Regions from separate parts of the Homo sapiens genome. Here all the other regions are linked to region 2. Evidence: promoter capture Hi-C in 16 types of primary human blood cells and fetal thymus (Javierre and others, 2016). All regions are on one chromosome and are shown on one strand. The core of a region is centred on a gene start or on the middle of the fragment in contact, and the rest is flanking DNA. Distances in the headings are between cores, read along the strand shown.

Region 1 (2,910 bases), core at 171-2,670, 1.2 Mb before region 2:
TCGTCCTCCCAAAGTGCTGGGATTACAGCCGTGAGCCACGGCGCCCAGCCATAAAAACTTTCGCCATAAAAACTTTCGTTAGCCATAGTCTCACCATAAACATGCCACTTACAAAAAAATATGCGCACAATAACCACGCTCAGGATGCAAACAACATCCATTAATGAACTTTGTAGTTAATACCAAAAGTTACTCCTCACTTTATTCTTTATTTACAAAAGCTTTCATGGTTCTTAAAAGTGTTTAGTATTCACCAATTTTACTGTTAGCGTTTCTAATGAGGATTTTCTAAAACTGAGGCATGGATTTGAAAAAGTGTTCTGATCAATCAGTAACAGATTTGGAATGGAATCTCCAGCCCCCAGTCTTTGCGCCCACCCTCTGGCAATATGCCGCCTCACGTGAGCATCTTTAAGACGGAGTTCCCTTTTTATTCCAGATAAAAGAATTAGGAGCCTTCTGGTAGAAAAGAAAGCAGATCTTCAGGATCAAGTCGCAGAGGCTGGCCAATCAGCCCAGCTTCTCATTTGAACTTGACCCAGACAGTAAAACAAACTTTACCATAAGGCGAGACTAACTTTTGTTATGTCTTTTCTATTCATTTCCTATTTCTGAATCAAATCTGAACTACTTTGTGGCCAATATACGACACCAGCTTCCGAGTGTGGGAATCACAGGATTTCAGGATTCAGCGGCTTCCGGCAGGATCCCCTAGGTTATGTTTAGCAATCTTCAGTTGCCTTTCCTTTTTTTCTTTCCTTCCTTTCGTTCTTTCTTTCTTTTTCTTTTTTTTTTTTTCCCAAAGGAAAGAACAAGGGAGCCCAGGCGGAACGGAAGTGAGTATCCCGACACGCGGATCTTAAACAGCCCAGACCACCAAGCCCGACAGGCCGGGAAAGCTGAGCGCGCGCTGCTGGGGGGACGCACACTTTGGAGGCTGTGTGGGCGCGCGCCGGCACCCCACAAGTTCTCATCCGTCTGCTCCGCCGATTCAGCCAGACAAAGACCGCAAGTTCCCCGGTCCACCGCTCCAGACAGGCGGGGACCAGTCTCCCCGAATTAGGCCCATTCCGGGCCCGGGCGCCCTCACTCGCCGCGGGGAAAAGTCCCCAGGTGCCCCTCCGTGATCCAGGTCCTCCCACAACGCTCCCGCTCCTGCTGGCGCCCCGCACCCCGAGGACGGCGGCCGGACCCCGGCCCCTCCCCGGTCCCGCGGCTGCAGGCCCACGCGCCCCACGCGCCCCGCGCGCCCCCGCCCCAGCTCCGCCGAGGGGGCGCTGCTCGCTGCGCGGTGGACCCCTCGGACCCCGCCCCCGCGGCCCCGTCCGGGCCCCGATACCCACCCGGGTCCCGCTGCGGGGGCCGGATTCGCGCCGGCTCCGAGAGCCGCCACCGTCGCCTCCGCCGCTGCCGCCGCCAGTGAGGCGCGGCGGGGCGGGGACGCGCGGGGAGGCCCGGCCCCCGGCCCGCCCCCGGGCCCGCCCCCGGCCCGGCCCCTGCCTGCCCCCGCCGGTCTCCCCGCCCACCTTCTGGCCCAGCCCTGGGCCCAAGCCTCTAGTTCCCTGCTGGCCCTCCCTCAGGCCTCGCCGCGTCCCGGCCTCGGGGACTGTGCCCCGTCCCGAGCCTGGCGTCCCCAAAGGAAAGGCAGGGCTCCTCGGACGCTCCGCGTGCGCGCTGGCCCTCCGCTGCCGCCCTCTGCAGGGAGATTTCTCCTATTTCGGACTAGGAAGGGAAGATACGCTCCGGAAGACCCCCCGGGCGTCCATGCAAGGAGTCTCCGTAGGACCCCTGGAGAAGGGCACCGGAGCCCCCTAGGGCAGGAGATGGAAAAGCGCTCGCCATGCGCGGGGTCCCCGGCCCCCGGTGCCCCCAGCCCGCCTGCCATTCCCGGGCGCTTAGCAGTCCGGGGTCCCCAGGTGCCCGGCAGGTCCCTTCGGGACCTCGAGCCGCCCGCTGGGCACACGCTGACGCCGCTGTCGCTTTACAGAAATTGAGCGCAGCCGAGGCGGGACCCGGGCGCAGAGAGCGATAAAGGAAAAGCATGGTCGTGCTCTAATCATTACAGTCTAAGGGACGACACGTCGAGACGGCGCGCGCCTCTGCGTGCGTGGAGATGGCACAAAGGCCGCGCCGCCCCCGGCGGCCCCCGCCCTCGCAGCGCGCGTGGTCCCGGCCCGGCCGGATGTTGACAGCGTCGCCTAGCAACGGGAAATGGCGGAACCGGGCGGCGCGGCGGGCCGGTAAGCCGGGCCGAGGGGCAGCGGGTCTTGGAGTCGCCAGGCCGCGCTCTCCGTTCACCGCTCCAGGTGGCCCCCGCGTCGGCTCCTGCCTCGCCCCTTCGCCTCCACTCCCCCTTCCTCTCGCCTGTGTCCCTTCTCTCGCCATTTTGCTGGCCTTTCCCGTCCACTGCGTTCAGCCCCTCACCCCCCCGCCAACCCTTCTCACTTCTCCCCTCCTGTCCCTTTGTCCTCTCTCGGCCTCCCTCTTTCCCCTACTCCAAGCGCGCGACTCCCTCTAAAACCCGGGACCGCTCACTCTGCAGTCACCATGGCAACCACTCTGCGTGGCGGTCCCTGCGCGCAGTCCTCCTAAGAGTAGAGGGCTCTGCAGGGCGCGGGGCTGTTGGATACCGCCCCTGACCTTGCTCCGGGGCCACTCGCTGTGGCCGGAGACCAGCCCGGCCCCGCGCCTCCCTCCTGCAAGGACAGATCCCCTCTCGCAGGCTTGGGGGTGACCCGCGATGGGAGGGGTCCCTGCGGTTAGGCGGCCCGCGATAGTCCGCGGTCACCGTCCTGGGGCCTGGGTGGAAGCACTGAGCGCGCACAGGGAGGGCGGCTGAGTGAAGATCCCTGCCACCGGGCCTCTGCTCGCTTAGGCTCTGTTTAAAAGGATAGAAACGATTGGAAAGAG
Region 2 (2,700 bases), core at 170-2,669:
TTAGCCAACACAGCCTCCCTGGTTCTCCTCAAACTCAGCCAGCTTGGCCCCGGCCAGTCCCCTGCCTCTAGGTCTCAGGACACTCCCTCCCTGCACTCAGAGGCCTTCCTTGAGCACCCATCACTCTTCACTCCCCATCCGGCTCGGACTCCCTTCCTGTGGCCGCACACAGTTGGTTTATGAATTGTGTGGCTCCTGAGCAACCCCAGCACCTGCAGGGAAAGGCACTCAGCTGAACCCGTAGATGAACGGGAGAAGCTGGCGCCAGGGACCAACCTCGAGAATTACCTCCCTGCCACGGTGGCCTCCAGTAGGCCAGCAGGCACCCAGCCTATCGCCCAAGGTCACCCTGGGCTTCCTTCAGCCCGGCACCCCACAGCAGGTCCCCCAAGGTCCCTTCCACGGAGCGATGGATACCCCTACTCCCTAGAGGCTGACCCTGCCACTGACCAGGTCCCAGTCCTCAGTTATGCACTTCCGGCTGTGCGGAAGAAACTTAACACCCTCCTCCTGCAGGGCACTGTCCACCCCTGGCTGGACCCATGCAAGCCCTTGGAGCCCAGGACTCTGCTCTCCCAGCCACACTTGCAAGCGGCTCTGGGATGGCGAACGGGGCCTCTCCATGGAAACCTCCAAGCCAGAAGAAGGGAGGCCTGGGAGGCCACTACATCTTGGATAAAACTGTGTCCCTCCCAGGACCTGAAGGGGCGGGGACTGATGACCAGCGCCAGGACCTGGTTCCCAGGGTGGGCTGACCCTGACCCTGACCCTGACCCTGGACAGAGAGGCCAGAGCCCACGCGCAGAGCAGAGCCCTCCACTTGTCCTCAGGGCAGCTCCCATCTCCCCATTTTCCCCAGGGCTTAAGGCAGCCGGGCCAGAGATGCCGGGACTGGACTCCATGTTGTCCTGGGGACCGGAGGGGAGTGGAGGGAGGTGGAGAGGGTGGAGGGGATGGAGGTGGGGACCCACACCCTCAGGCACGAGCCTGTCTTCACCTGCGCGGGCCCCGGACCTCCCTCACCTGTGCGCACCCTGGATCCCCCTCACTTCCCCCGGATCCCGCCTTCAATTGCGCGGGCACCAGATCCCCCCACTCACCTGTGCGTGCCCCGGATCCCCATCACTTCATCACTGGACCAGGGCCTCCCACCTGCGCGGGCTCCGGACCCCTCCAACCTCCGTGCGCCCTGCAACCCCCTCCCTTGCCCGGGCCCCCCTCACCTGCGCGGGCCGGGGGCGCAGCCGCGAAGCCTGCCTGGCGCGCGGGGCCTGCAGATTCGGCCGGCGGGGAGGGGATGCGGAACCAGTCGCGCCCAAACCTCGGGTCGGCGACCTGGCGCCCCGCCACCCCCAACACTGCCCCGAGGCCCGGTGACAATGAAGCGGCCGGACGGCCGGGGTGAGCAGCGGCGGCAGCTAGCAACCAGCCTGGCACCACCTCCCCAGCCCGTCACGCCGGCCCGCCTTTCCTGCGCGCGCCGACTCCGGATTGGCCCTTCACGCTCCCGCTCAGGCCGTCCCGGGAGCTCATTGGGCCGCTCGGCTGTCCTTCGGGAAGTTCAAGCGTGGGAGGAGCGGCGGATGGCTGAGGGACGCGACTACAGAGAGCGGCCGATTGGACGCGGCTGGAAAGGGGCGGGTCATATAGGGGGCGGGGGACCGAGGGCGGCGGGAGGAGCTGGCCGGGCAGGGGCGGGGCCCCAGCGGTTGTGGGCGGGGCGTGAGGTGGGGGTGTGATGGGCGAGTAGGGCGAGGCAGATGTGGGCGGGGCAAGGCAGGTGTGGGCGGGGCACGCAGGGCCTGGGGAGGAGACACCAGGGAGGGCGCGAGGAGCACGCGGCCTCGGCTCGGCTCCCCGACACCCCCAGGCCGCCGCACTCCCGCGGCCCGGGGCTCCCCCAGTGTCCTAGGCCGCTCTGTCCCCACCCACGTGCGCGACTCCCCTCGTTACTCAGTACGACTGCGAGGGCGTGTGGGCGCCTTGCTAACCTCCCTGACCTCCTTCCCTTCGCGCTGCTTTGTTGTTTTTTTTCCTTCTCCAAAGTTTTAACGCTGCGCCCCGTGCGTAGCCGCTCTGTGACTCCCCCTCTCTCCGGGAGCCCTGGGGATTCCGCCCAGGTCCTCTCCAGGGAAGCCATCCTTCCCCTAAAAGTCACAGCACACTGGTCTCCCCTGCCCCCGCTTTTTAAAAAGTCCAGTGCTCTGTAAAATAAAAAGTTTGGTTTCAGTAAAATCCACATTTTTTGGTGTGCAGTGGAGTTGTGTAACTTTAGTTACAGAACATTCTCCCTCCGGATCCCGTACCTGCTGACTGCTGGTGGCGGCTGCTCAGTTCTCTCTGTTCTCCATCCCTAGAGGCAGCCTTTTCCAGAATGTCACACAAAAGGGATGTCGCGCAGCGCGCCTGTGGGTCTGGCTTCTACCACTTCGCATTTTGAGATTCATGCTGGTTCCTCTTTATTGCTGAGTGGTATCCTGTAACCGGTGTGAACCACCGGTTCAGATGGTTTTATTTATTGATGGTTTTATTCATCAAATGAAGGACGCAGAGATTGTTCCTGGTGCTTGGCAATTATGAATGACGCTGCCATAAACATTCACTCATCGGCTTCTGTGTGGACACAACTTTTCATTTCTCTTGTGTAAATACCCAGGAGTGGGGTTGCTGGATCAAATGATTGTTTATAAGAAACTGCCG
Region 3 (2,796 bases), core at 268-2,767, 1.1 Mb before region 2:
CCCTGTCCCAAGCATTAAACACAGGCCATTTATCCCAGATGCTGGTCATTCCCATCTATGTGCCCAACCCAACCTCTTCTCCAGGCTCTCCCTCAACTTCCTCACATCTTTCAAACATACCAAGAGACAGCTCCTGATTCTGACTCTCTGGAGTGCTGCCTACCTAGCCAAATGTTTGCAGCATCAACCACCGGTTACTCAAAACACTCCAACTCTCCTCCTTCTGTCACTCACGTTCAATCCATCAGCCAATGCTGTCAGCTCCCTGGTACTCCATCTCCAAGGCAGCACAATCCTCTCTTCCCTGAACTGCAGCAAAAGCTCCCAACTCTCTTGTTTCCTCTCCTGCCTTGCCTCGCCTCACCTCAAATCTACAGACACCCAGAAGAATCTTTAAAACTGTAAATGTGATCGTGTCACATAGCTACTTAAAACCTTCCACTGGCTTCCCACTAGATTTCTAAATGAAATTCAAATTATTCGTCACCCTACACGTCTTTGCTAGATCTGCCCCGACTAGCTCTCCAAAATCCCACCACAGGGGACTTCTTTCAGTTCCTGGAATGCAGCTGGCTAAGGGCTGCAAGGCCCTGGCACCAGCTGTTCCTTCTGCCCCAACTGCTCTTCCCTCTTCTCATAACAGTCTCCTTCATCCAGAACTCTGCTCAAATGGCACCCCCTCCTGCGAACCCCCTTACCTCTCTGCTTTACTAATTCTCTCCTCCTTCCCAGTCCCACTCTATTCAATTACCCCGCTTCAGGTTCTTCAGGTTGCCTGGGCAACCTGACAGTATGCTTTCCCCCCAAACGAAATTCAAAACCCGTAAAGGCGCAAACCCTTCCGGTTTACCGCCAAAACCCCAGTACCTAGAAAAGCTAATAGGTAGAAATCAGTTATCTGCTGAATGAAGGACGCTGAGGTGCCTCGAAGCGGCTGCAGCCCCCGACAGACCCAGCGCCGAGCTCTGCACGGGGGACACACACCGAAAGCGCCGACACAGCCAGGCGTGAGGGCGAGGACGGGGGTGGGGGTGGGGGTCGGACGTCACTGGCCCCCGAGCCTCGACCCTGACCACGACCTCCGGAGCGCAGGGCCGGCCCGGGAGTCACCAGTCTGGCCCTCAGCCCCCGGCTCGCCCCCGACTCGCCCCCGGCTGGCCCCCGCGGCCCGCGCCCGCTCACCGTAAGCGTAGATGCCCCGCAGCAGGTCCTCCCGCAGGCCCATGGTGTCGAACGTGGGGGTCACATCCACCTCCTCGCTGGTCTCGAATTCCACTTTAGTCATGTCTTCCTCTTTGAGCAGCCGCTTTCGCGCCGAGCCCGAGGTCGCCATCGTGGCCGTGGTCGCCATGATTCAGAGTCCGCGGAAGAGCACAGCGCGCGCCGCTGCCGACCTCGCTGCCGCTGCCGACCTCGCTGTGCCGCTGCCGACCTCGCTGCCGCTGCCGACCTCGCTGTGCCGCTGCCGACCTCGCTGTGCCGCTGCCGACCTCGCTGTGCCGCTGCCGACCTCGCTGTGCCGCTGCCGAGAACAGACGCCTTAAGTATGCGAAAGCGAGAGACGTGCGTGCGTACGTGCGTACGTGCGTACGCGCGACGCGGCCACGCCTCTGGGGGACGGGGCACTCTTCGTCACGTGAAAGGGAACTGGGCGTTTGCCGCAGGGAAAAGTAAGGTGTTTCTGCTCTCGCGCCATATGCAGTTCCCGCGGGATCTCGTTGAGGGCGGGGCACCCAGTTCCTTACGAAAGGGATGGAGGGGGTGGTACTTCTAAAGTTGGCGGTGTTTCGTACCGGCCGCGGGATTTCGCGGACTGGGGCGCTGAGGTTCTTTGAGCGGCGTGTGGACCTGAATTCCCTGGAAACAGGCTGGGGCCGCGAGGGGCCTCCGCTCCGGGCGGGGTCCCCAGATAGCCCCGCCTCGAATAAAAATGACGAGCACGGGTCCTCTCTCGGGCCCGCAGTGGGTGGACTGCGTCGCAGACCCGTAGTGGAGGCGCCCAGCTCGCCGGGGAGATTCGAGTGGAAACCCTCACGGCCGCCGGTGGTGGGCCCCGGCGCGGCGCTGGGCTCCGGCGGGTCTGCGCTGGGGAGGGCCAGGGCCCCTGAAGCCGGCGTCCCTCTTAGGGGACGCGCCTGGGTGTGTCTTCACCGTTTGCCTGGTGAGTTGGAGACAGGGTCTCGCTCCGTCGCCCAGGCTGGAGTGCAGTGGTAGGATCAGGGTTCATTGTAGCCTCCGCCTCAGCCTCTGGAGTAGCTGGGACCTCAGGCGCGCGCCACCACGCCCGGCTAATTTTTTAAATTTTTTTGTAGAGACGGGGTTGGGGGAGGCGGGGGTTAGGGTTGTCCTGGCTGGTCTTGAACTGCGGGGCCTCAGGTGATCCGCCTGCCTTGGCCTCCCAAAGTGCTGGGATTACAGGCATGAGCCACTGTGCCCGGCAAGCAGCTGTTATAAATAAAATACATGCTGAGCCTGCAATTTGCTCTTAATGAAGGCCACTTGTCAGTAGACGGTGCTGCTAATGCGTGTCCTGCAGCAAAGATAACCCAGACGGGATCATTTTTTAATTGCCCAGCAGAACTTTAACCAGTTGTGCATCTTAACCTGCTTTTTGTTTGTTCGTTTGTTTGTTTTGAGACAGTCTGGCCCTGTCGCCCAGGCTGGAGTGCCATGGCGCGATCTCGGTTCACTGCAGCCTCCACCTCCCGAGCACAGGCGATCCTCCCGCCTCAGCCTCCAGAGCACCTGGGACCACAGGTGTCCACGCGCAGCCACTAACCGCTTTCTTATCTGACA

What was found. Contacts are between HindIII fragments. The CHiCAGO score rates a contact against its expected background, and 5 or more counts as called.
Region 1: a contact is called between the fragment with the promoter of TBC1D16 here and the fragment with the promoter of CEP131 in region 2, in 2 of 17 cell types (total CD4 T cells and non-activated CD4 T cells). The highest score is 5.4, in total CD4 T cells.
Region 3: a contact is called between the fragment with the promoter of EIF4A3 here and the fragment with the promoter of CEP131 in region 2, in 2 of 17 cell types (non-activated CD4 T cells and naive CD8 T cells). The highest score is 11.2, in non-activated CD4 T cells.

The regions. Positions count from the first base shown.
Region 1 is chr17:80,034,452-80,037,361 of GRCh38, forward strand. It overlaps TBC1D16 (TBC1 domain family member 16), which reads right to left and starts at 1,421. Exons shown (of 12, transcript NM_019020.4): 1 at 1,344-1,421. CCDC40 (coiled-coil domain 40 molecular ruler complex subunit) reads left to right here and starts at 2,191. Exons shown (of 20, transcript NM_017950.4): 1 at 2,191-2,240. The coding sequence starts at 2,212. RefSeq lists a silencer at 1,420-1,489 and enhancers at 1,680-1,799, 2,699-2,910. The HindIII fragment of the contact is 6,044 bases long and covers 220-2,910 here.
Region 2 is chr17:81,221,546-81,224,245 of GRCh38, forward strand. CEP131 (centrosomal protein 131) reads right to left here and starts at 1,420. Exons shown (of 26, transcript NM_014984.4): 1 at 1,224-1,420. RefSeq lists enhancers at 1-451, 452-1,121, 1,122-1,791 and silencers at 1,153-1,482, 1,643-2,012. The HindIII fragment of the contact is 19,797 bases long and covers 1-2,700 here.
Region 3 is chr17:80,145,611-80,148,406 of GRCh38, forward strand. EIF4A3 (eukaryotic translation initiation factor 4A3) reads right to left here and starts at 1,518. Exons shown (of 12, transcript NM_014740.4): 1 at 1,183-1,518. The coding sequence starts at 1,351. RefSeq lists enhancers at 745-1,459, 1,460-2,172, 2,173-2,796 and silencers at 1,097-1,146, 1,987-2,176. The HindIII fragment of the contact is 5,955 bases long and covers 1-2,796 here.